Regions from separate parts of the Homo sapiens genome. Here all the other regions are linked to region 2. Evidence: promoter capture Hi-C in human tissues and cell types (Jung and others, 2019). All regions are on one chromosome and are shown on one strand. The core of a region is centred on a gene start or on the middle of the fragment in contact, and the rest is flanking DNA. Distances in the headings are between cores, read along the strand shown.

The links. Contacts are between HindIII fragments. The study calls those that stand out against the background at their distance.
Region 1: a contact is called between a fragment that was not itself captured here and the fragment with the promoter of ATP8A2 in region 2, in 2 of the 25 tissues and cell types used here (bladder and heart right ventricle).
Region 3: a fragment that was not itself captured here is called in contact with the fragment with the promoter of ATP8A2 in region 2 in 2 of the 25 tissues and cell types used here (dorsolateral prefrontal cortex and heart left ventricle).

The regions. Positions count from the first base shown.
Region 1 is chr13:25,457,378-25,460,729 of GRCh38, reverse strand. The region is part of intron 1 of ATP8A2 (ATPase phospholipid transporting 8A2); the gene reads right to left. Among named protein-coding and RNA genes, the nearest start is that of ATP8A2, 87 kb to the right of the region's middle. The HindIII fragment of the contact is 5,097 bases long and covers 1-3,352 here.
Region 2 is chr13:25,370,292-25,373,560 of GRCh38, reverse strand. ATP8A2 (ATPase phospholipid transporting 8A2) reads right to left here and starts at 1,587. Exons shown (of 37, transcript NM_016529.6): 1 at 1,273-1,587. The coding sequence starts at 1,348. The HindIII fragment of the contact is 5,522 bases long and covers 1-3,269 here.
Region 3 is chr13:25,305,687-25,309,111 of GRCh38, reverse strand. NUP58 (nucleoporin 58) reads right to left here. Exons shown (of 16, transcript NM_014089.4): 2 at 1,164-1,306. Among named protein-coding and RNA genes, the nearest start is that of NUP58, 5.8 kb to the right of the region's middle. The HindIII fragment of the contact is 6,165 bases long and covers 1-3,425 here.

The DNA.
Region 1 (3,352 bases), core at 309-2,808, 87 kb before region 2:
CAACCTAGTTGGCTCCGGCACAGTGGGTGAAAGTTGAGCCACTGTAATTTGAAGTCTTGTTTCCAATAAGTACAGCAATATACACTGGGCTTCTGTTCCTCAAAACCCATTTTATACCTTAGATGTATTAAATTTATCCTGTAAATTAAATGAAGACAAATGTGCTTTTAAGGAAATGTATTTCATATCTAAAACCAAAAACAACAACAAAAAAGAAAAGCTATGTTTCAAACACTCAACTCAGAGTAATTTTTCATATGGGTTGGATTGGTTGAGTTTTAAAAATACAAGTCCAGTTACTTCTCCTTAGCAACTTCCTCTGTTGCTAGGATAGACATTCTCCATTGCTCGTAGGACCCCAACACTGGCCCAAGTTAGGGACACCAGCTTTAAAATCTCATTGCTGATTCGATATGCATGAACACCATCTTTGAACAGCTAACCTAGGAGAGGGGCGGTTTCCTTTGAAGCTGTGGTTTGCCTGTCCTGAGCATATTTTGTTTGCTTCTTTGTTTGTTTTTGTTTGTTTGAGACGGAGTCTCACCCTGTTGCCCAGGCTGGAGTGCAATGGCGCAATCTCGGCTCACTGCAACCTCTGCCTCCCAGATTCAAGCAGTTCTCCCACCTCAGCCTCCCAAGTAGCTGGGATTATAGGCACCCACCATCATGCCCGGCTAATTTTTGTATTTTTGTAGAGATGGAGTTTCACCATATTGGCCAGACTAGTATTGAACTCCTGACCTCAGGTGATCCGCCCACCTCGGCCTCCCAAAGTGCTGGGATTACAGGCGTGAGCCACTGCATCCAACCTTGTCCTAAGCATTTTGAAGACCCACACAGCTTGGCCAAAGGCTCATGGCTTCACTGCAACCAACCCCATAGCCAGCCTACCTCCCCAGTGACATCAGTGACCCCTCTCCTGCTGCTCCTGAACCCCACCCATGATGACCTTCTTTCCTCAAGACATCAGCTCTGTTCCTTCTCCAGAGACCTGGTACTTGCTTTTTCTTCACCTAGAATGTCATTCCCTAGTCTTTGCTAACTAACTTCTTCCTGTCACTCAGGCATCAGCTTAAATGTCACTTCCCCACAGAAGCACTTTGTGACCACGCCCTAGCTACAGCATTCCCCTTCTCACTTATTCCCTAACACCACACATTATTTCTTGCATGGACATACCACTCCATAAAATGTGTGTGTTCATTTTCTGTCTTCCAACATTCTCTAGGAGCTCCAGGAGGGCAGGGCCCATGCTCATCTTCATCACCTCTGCATCCCCAGGAAATAGGATGCAGAAGGCATTCAGTAAACATGTTTGACGAGTGAATCAAGCGAACACAAAATTTCGCATTCTGTCTTAAGTGGACAGAGAAAAATGCAATTCTTTAAATTTAGTCTGCAACTAATCTGACCCACCTCCTAAGGCATCATCCTGTATAGAAAGCTGGGAAAAAATGGAAATGTCCAGTTTTGTTGGTAGCTCAGTCCAATGTGAAAAGTTTAAGTAAGTGGTATTCAGTCTTCCTTGAATAAGGATGCTTTAGCTCCCAAATCACTTCATCGTCCTCTGGCTTCTCTCTTGAAAATGGTGCTGGATCCATGGAGGGTAGAGATGGGGGCATGGGGAATAGTTGGGATCCTTACACATAAATGCCTTCTGCCTCCTCTGGTCTGCAGAATGACATCCCTGGTCCCCTTGCTGGCATTTGGATTATGTCTGTGACTGGTCTGGCTTGGCTTTGTCAAAGGGCATCTGTGTTCCCTAGATGGCTCTGCCTCACCTGGGCTCCCTCTGCAGAGACTACAGCACCTGCTGTGCTCTCTCTGCCACCTTCTGTCAGCCTCATTCCACAACCCTACCAAGCGAGGTCCCAGAGAGGCCCCAGGAGCTTTCAGATTAGCTCCCAGACCACATGGGAAGCACAAGTAGGCAGTTCAAGAAAACGGGACCTCCCTGTTGCTCCTCAGTATTATCCTCACTTATCCCACACACCTCATCTCTCCAACTGGGAAAACTTTCCCCACGGAGAGAAACATCAAGGTGTATCTCATTACATTGCTTTCTTTCCTCCTCCTGCCTTCCACTCCACCTTCTGGAAATCAAAAACAGGCAAGTGTTTTAATGCACTTCCCTCATGCCATTCTTCTGGATTCCAAACACTCCTTAAAATTATAGTGGCTGGAATTGCAGGTGCGCCCTAACACATGAGGCTTCTGCAGGGCATGGCGAGTGCACCTGTAAATTCCGGCTACTCAGGACGCTGAGGCGGGAGGATTGCTTGAGCCCAAGAGTTTAAGGCCAGCATGGGCAACACAGAAAGACCCTCATCTCAAAAACAAAAAACCTGCTTAGGTATCTCTTCTTTAATGTGGAAAATGTTGAGAGTCAAGCCATCCAACTCTTGTAAGTGTGAGATATTTATAATATAACTATATAAGGCAGATTAATATATACAATTAAGTATTGTATGTATTACAAAGAAGAATTAGTCTACAAAGTCTCCTCGTAAACAAAAGGCTGGCTTGCCTAATCCTGCTATTTTTGAAAGACATACGATGAACACGTCTTGATGTTTCTCTTGACATTCCTTCTAATCTTTCTTGGGGAGGTGGAGGCTCCAAGCAGACGGAAGTCAACAGTCAAGTACAAGAGAAAAACACATTCATTTGCTTCAACTATAGCCCCAGTTTCTCATGCCAATTATCCTGTCCTGTTTGCTTACAATCACTGGTCATATGAACCCAATGCTCTACTTCCATCAGCAGTCTTAACCCACTAAATACATGCAGTCAGATTTGAGCAAGTCACTACAGAGGCCAGCTCATTCACTTTTGTTCCCAACTCCACTGACACAAAATAGACTTCCCCAGTAGGATGGCTTTTCCCGACTCTCTTGTTGAGTTGACATTTTGTGTATCACGTTTTCTTCTCAGACACAGAAGTGAGAAAGTTTAAAATATGAGAAAATCTTTAAAAAGCAAGAGCACTGCCAAAGAGATGCATATGCAATCATCTGAATCCAAGGCCTCCACAACCGACTCAGGGTTGCCAGGTCGATTTGTTGTCTTTGCCATGTCACTAAGGTGCCATAGATGAGTGTGGTAAAAAGCACAACTATTGTTGAGCCTACCACTGTTCTAAGCATTCTGTATGTGTAAATCCATCCAATCCTCATAACAATCATATGAGGAGCATGCTTATTTTTAGAGATAATTTTTTAGAGATAATAAAAATGGGGCAAGGAGTAATGAAGCAACCAGCTCAATGCCCACAGGTGCATTTTTTTGTTACTATAAGAATCATTAATATGATCCTTATCTATATGATCATTGATATGTCCTTTTACCTACA
Region 2 (3,269 bases), core at 338-2,837:
AGAGGGTGTCCCCAGGTCTCCTCAGGCTGCCTCCACCTTGGGAAATTCTCACACCTGTATGACTGCGCCCTCCCACTGTCTCTCTGCCACAGCTCTTCCCTGCTATTTAGTCTTGACCCTGCACCCCGTGACCCCTTCAGGCTGGGATTCTCCTCAAAATGAATGTGAAAGTGTCCTGACTTTACCCAAGTTTAACAAACATTGGCTTAAATTACCTGATAAGCTTGCTTCCCTCTCACGTTACTCAACTACAGAAATACAAAAGTCGCTTATTTTTATGTGCCTATTTTCTCAAAACAAATAAAAAAGCACGAAGACAAGTGACCCCAGCTCCAAACTGTACACCCTCTACCTTCCTCATGTCAAAGATCTACCTGCAAACTTGCCGCAGTCCTGAAACGGTAAGAAATCATTTTTGGGGCTCCTCTTTACGTCTGCATTAACTAATGGTCTAGGTAACCCTATCAAGTGTCATAGCCACATAACATCCAGCTCCACGACATCATAGTTTCTAAATGTGTTCTATAATCATAGAACGCGGGCCTCTAACAGTGTGAGTGGTCGGGTATGGTACATGCGTGTTTGGCTTTAGGTTTCGAGTTCCAACACCCAGGCGCCTGCAGGCAGGGTATGTGTACGCGTGCGTGTGTACGTGTGTGTGTACCTGTGTGTGTGTGTGCGCGCGCGTGTGCGTGTGTGTGTTCGTCTCCAGATGGTTGTATGCACGGATGGTTATGAGCCAGTACGTCGCCGCTGTGAGCGCGCGAGGACCCGGGGCTCCAAGTGGTGAGAATCACTCGAGGGACCCTTCGGATGCCTTTTTCCCCCTCTGCTTTTGAGCTCTGCAGCACAGCGGTGCCGGCCGCCGGCAGGGAAGGCTGCATCTTCTCTGCGCCGCCAAACCGTGCCCACCATCGCGGTGACTGCCGCCTAGGTCGCATCCCTGAGCCGCATCCGCGCGTAGGGGCGCACGGGCACGCGCACAGGGAGGCCGCACACACACACACACATCTGTACAGGGACGAGCCGGGGGTCTCTGACGCCCGCCGCTCACCTCGCCCCGGCCTGGAGCCTTTTGGCCCCGCAGGTGCAGCGACGCCCAGCCCCCGTGCGGCCAGCGCGCCGCGTCGGCGGATCCTGCAGCCCAGAGAGCCCAGGGAGCCCAGGGAGGGGAGCGGGGCGCGGGCGGGGCAGTGTCGCATAACCGCAGGCGCGCCCCGCGCCGCCCCCGCCCCGGGCCCACCCTCCCTCGCCGCGCCCCTCCCAGCTCACCCACGGACGAGCGGATCCTCGACCTCCGCGGCAGGGACATCTTAAGAGCTTTGTCCAGGCCTGCGCCGTTCAGCATCTCGCCCGTGTCGGGGGCTCGGCGGCCCCGGGCGAGAGACGGAGGCTACGCGCAGGGCTGGGCGCAGGGGCCGCCGCCCGAGGACCATGGGTGGGCCAGCGCCTCGCCGGGCTGCTAGCTGGCGGGGACCGCCGGCGCCTGTGCCGGGCCGCGCCCGAGGCTGCGCCGTCCGTGCCGCAGCGGCCAATGCGGCAGCATCCGCGAACGCCACCGCGGCGGGCCCCGCTGGCCCGGGCTGCGGCGTGGGGGCGGGGGACCGGCCCTGAGCGGAGCCCCGCGGGAGGAGGAGCGGACGGGAGGCTGGGAGGGATCCGCAATATTACGCAGGACCGGGGCTTTTAGGTGTCGGGGAAGGCGATGGGGAGGGCTTGGTGGGGTGGGAGATTGGGCCTGTACTTTCGGGGGCTCTTCCAGGAGAGGGGTGCACCTGGGGGACTCGGAGTCTCTGCCTGTCTGCTACCTATTTACCTGCCTGTCACTTGTCCTGTGCAAGTGGAGGCGCTGTGATTCCCCAGGACTCATCCAGTCCCTTTCTTTTCGCAGTTTCTGTTCTTCCGTGCCCAGCCTGGTGGGATCTGTGTAGGGACTTCGTGGAAGGGTTATTTCCAAGGTGTCTGATGTGTGGCTTGGCACTCAGAGAAGTCGGGGGTCTCCAGCCCCCCACTCTCCACAACCTGCCTGACATTCTAACTACGCATATTAAAGCTGCAGGTAGCCCTAGGGAACCTTAACAGCAACCTTCTCAACCCCCGCACGCACACACACACACACACACACCCATCGACACACACACACACACACACAGACCCATCGACACACACACACACACACCCATCGACACACACACACACACACCTTCTTTCATAAAACAAAACCATCGAGAGGTAAGATGACTTGTCCAAGGTCACTTGATCTATTTTTTGTTTTTTCTTATCGCGTAATGTTTAGACTGTGCTTGGTCTTTCTGGGCACAATCCCATGAAGATAAGAAGCTATCTTTATTGTGCCTGATGACATTCTGACCTCGGAGTAAAAACGGAACAAAACAAAAATAAAACTGTTCAGGTGAAAGTCTGACCTTGCTTTTACTGATGCGAGCATTACATTTCTTTTAACCTAAATTAACATTAGGGACTGACAAGGAGTAGTACAGAGTTCAGCAAAAAGAATCTGTGCTAGCAAAGACAGCAGTGCGGCCTGAGCTCCTCCTGCCTGGCCTCTGCATCTGATTTTATTTTCTTTTACTTTTTTTTTTTCTTTGACAGAGTTTTGCTCTTGTTGCCCAGGCTGGAGTGCAATGGCGCTATCTCGGCCCACTGCAACCTCCGTCGCCCGGGTTCAAGTGATTCTTGTGTCTCAGCCTCCCGAGTAGCTGGGATTACAGGCGCCCACCACCACGCCCAGCTAATTTTTGTATTTTTAGTAGAGACGGGGTTTCACTAAGTTGGCCAAGCTGGTCTCGAACTCCTGACCTCAGGCGATCCACCTGCCTCGGCCTCCCAAAGTGCTGGGATTACAAGCGTGAGCCACCACCCCCGGCCTCTGCTTCTAATTTTCTTAAGAACAAACATCCAGGCCGCGCGTGGTGGCTCACGCCTGTAATCCCAGCACTTTGGGAGGCAAAGGCGGTCAGATCATGAGGTCAGGAGATGGAGACCATCCTGGCTACCGCGGTGAAACCCCGTCTCTACTAAAAATACAAAAAAAAAATCGCCGGGTGTGGTGGCAGGTGCCTGTAGTCCCAGCTACTCGGGAGGCTGAGGCAGGAGAATCGCTTGAACCCAGGAGGTGGAGGTTGCAGTGAGCGGAAATCATGTCACTGCACTCCAGCCTGGGTGCCAGAGTAAGACTCCACCAAAAACAAAACAAGACAAAACAAAAAACAACATCCAAAGGGACAGGCAACTTACACTGAAAACTG
Region 3 (3,425 bases), core at 723-3,222, 65 kb after region 2:
TATCTGCCACTAATCACGCATTTTTCCCATAGCACTGGTTTTCATATTACAAGCCATACATAATTTGATTAAGGAATAAAATTTATAAAATGCAAATAACTATTGCTTATAACAAAATTAAGCAAGACCAAAAAAAGCAACTCCAAACAAAATGCTATACTGAGCTGTCTCAAGCAGCTCACTGACTAATCTGCTCATATTTATTCCTGTAGTTCTTCCATTTTCTAGATGTGGCTGTGAAATGTGCTGCACTCAAAGCTGGAAGATCAACGCAAAAAGTAGTAAGAATGACCAAGAGGCTCTAAGGGTAGAAAATAAGGGGTAAATAAAGAAGCAAACTTTTTAAATGGTCAGCTCCAGTGAAACATTATTTTTCCAGCTGTACTAAAAACAAAAACTTTCTATTGTTTTGAAACCTTCAAGTCCTTTACCTATTGCCCTTTTCCCACTTTGTTTTAATAATACAAAAATGTAAAACATCTCTTAGGAACGTAAATTATAGACCAGGCATGGTAACTCAGGCCTATAATCCCAGCACTCTGAGAGGCCAAAGCAGGAGGATCACTTGACCTCAGGAATTTAAGACCAGGAGGAGACCTCTTCTCTACAAAAAGTAAAAAAGTAAAAAAAAAAAAAAAAAAATTAGCCAGGCGTGGTGGTGCACACGTGTGGTCCCATCTACTCAGGAGGCTGAGGTGGGAGGATCACTTGGGCCCGAGAGGCTGCAAGGCTACAGTGAGCCATGATCATGCCACTGCACTCCAGCCTAGACAACAGAGCAAGACTGTGTATCTAAAAAAAGAAAAAAAATAGAAATTATGTTACAGTAAGGGTGCTGATTATCTCACGTATGTTAATGTTCCAAATTGATAAAGCTGGCTTAAACCACAATCTCCACTAAGGAAAAACACTACATTATATAATCCAAAAATTTAAATTAATATTTGTATGTTTTCCTTCGTTATATCAGAGTAGATGACAGTCAATGATTGGGCCTATCACTAGCCCTTAATTCCAATTCCTTGCATTTCTTTTCATCTTAGCATTTACCATTTTTTAAGGTCTACTACCAGTGATGATCCTTGTAAAGAGAGATACAGGACACAATTTAGGAAAGAATATCCCAAGCCTACTCTCTGACAATGTGATCAGATCCTCCTCACCTGTATTTGTTCCTCCTAGAGTGAACCCAGTGGCAGGTTTAGATCCAAAGAGCCCGGTTCCAAAACCACTTGAAGGAGCAGATGTAGTTGCTGGAGTTGAAGTACTTCCAAGATTTCCAAAATTGAGCCCCACAGAAGGGTTGCTTATTTAAAGAAACAAAAACAAAACAAAAATCACATGCACAAAAGGAGGTCTACTAGAGCCAATATTTACTTAAGAAAAATAAAAATTAACTCTTCAAGATAATTTCATTCACATAACATATCTAATACATTGTCATAGGACCCAAAAAGAAAAATAAATTTACCTTTAACCCATCAAGTTCAAATATGTTTCTGTTCTTCCTTAAAAATAAATCCACATGTAAAAGTAGTCTTAAAAAAAAATAAATCCACATGTAAAAGTAGTCTTAAAAAATACAATACCAGATTTCAGGCTGGGTGTGGTGGCTCATGCCTGTAATTCCAGCACTTTGGGAGGCCGAGGCAGGTGGATCACAAGGTCAGGAGTTCGAGACCAGCCTGACCAACAGGGTGAAACCTCGTCTCTTCCAAAAATACAAAAATTAGCCAGGTGTGGTGGTGGCACACGCCTGTAATTCCAGCTACTCAGGAGGCTGAGGCAGGAGAATTGCTTGAACCCGGGAGGCAGGTCGCAGTCAGCTGAGATAGTGTCACTGCACTCCAGTTTGAGTGACAGAGCGAGACTCCCTCTCAAAAAAAAAAAAAAAAAAAAATACAATACCAGATTTCAAGAAAAGCAGTCTACAGCAATAAGGATTCCAGATCTCAAGGTAATCATAAGTAGGGATCACAATTATTCTGCTTTCACCAATGTTTGAAACCTAGCATATTTTTAAATGGTCATAGAAAAGTTATTTTAAATTATCTTCACTAGCTTTCCATTGCTACATTACCACATTCATGGGGCAATGTGGTGTTGGGGAGAGTATAGACTTAGGTATTTTACCACCAAAAAAAGCATAGAAAAACTAGTGGGGACATTTCCTGGCAAAAGTTAAACGCAAAGCAAAATCACCCTGTCTCAGGATCATGTATTCATTAACAGAAACTCTTCAGAGCACAGTGCAAAGCTTAAAAAAAGAACAGCTGATAAAAACAAGTGAAAGTGAACAAACTTCACAACTTTTCAACTACTCTTATCAAGACTCAGGGGTTCAGATTTGCTATGAAAAGGTGGGAAGACAAACTGTGAAAATAAGCAAATTTTGACAAGTTGACACTTCCAAAATTATGTAGGAGATTTAAGGGAGACTATACAGCATAATGGCAAATTCTCTTTATCCTACATATTTATCTTTATTATTTCCTTTGCTGCCCTTCCATAAAGAATAATCACCATGGGAGAACCCAATGTCATTTTTAAAGTCTCAAAAGCCCTGGCAGCAGTAGTGTGGCTGGGTTCCAGTACCAATCCCCCCATGTTCTGGTACTTGTGTGCCATTACTTAACCTTTCTGAGCCTCTATTTCCTCATCTGCAAAACAGGAATTAACAGTACCCACTTAGCAGATTTTTTTTTTTTTTTTTTTTTTGAGACGGAGTCTCACTCTGTTGCCCAGGCTGGAGTGCAGTGGCACTCCGCAAGCTCCGGCTCCCGGGTTCACCCCATTCTCCTACCTCAGCCTCCGGAGTAGCTCAGACTATAGGTGCCTGCCACCACACCCAGCTAATTTTTTGTATTTTTACTAGAGACAGGGTTTCACCATGTTAGCCAGGATGGTCTCAATCTCCTGACCTCGTGATCCACCTGCCTCGGCCTCCCAAAGTGCTGGGATTACAGGCGTGAGCCACCGCACCCGGCCAGCAGAATTTTTTTTTAAATATAAGGGTTCAGAGCACAGGATGAATTAACTTCAATAAATGTTGTTATGACTGTTATCATTAGGGATACTTATAAATTTAACTAAACATATTATGTACAAGGCGTTATGCCAGGAATAGCAAGGGAGCAGAAAGATGTCCCCTAGTCAAGGAACATGCCGTTTACCAGGGGGATAAACAACACAAATAACTGTACTCCAAGCCAGAAGAGTTCTCCAAGTTACTTGGGTCCGGGTGTCTTCAATTTCATAATCAGCTTAAGAAGCCACTCAAATTTTTGCAAACACTGGGAGACAAGGAGGAAAAGAAATACTCAAGCAGGAGATAATTCAAGCAGTAGAAATGTACACACCTTCAGTAAGTTTAGAATTACTATAAGTAAGATTATAATCAAGTACCAAACGATGGCAAAGAGATA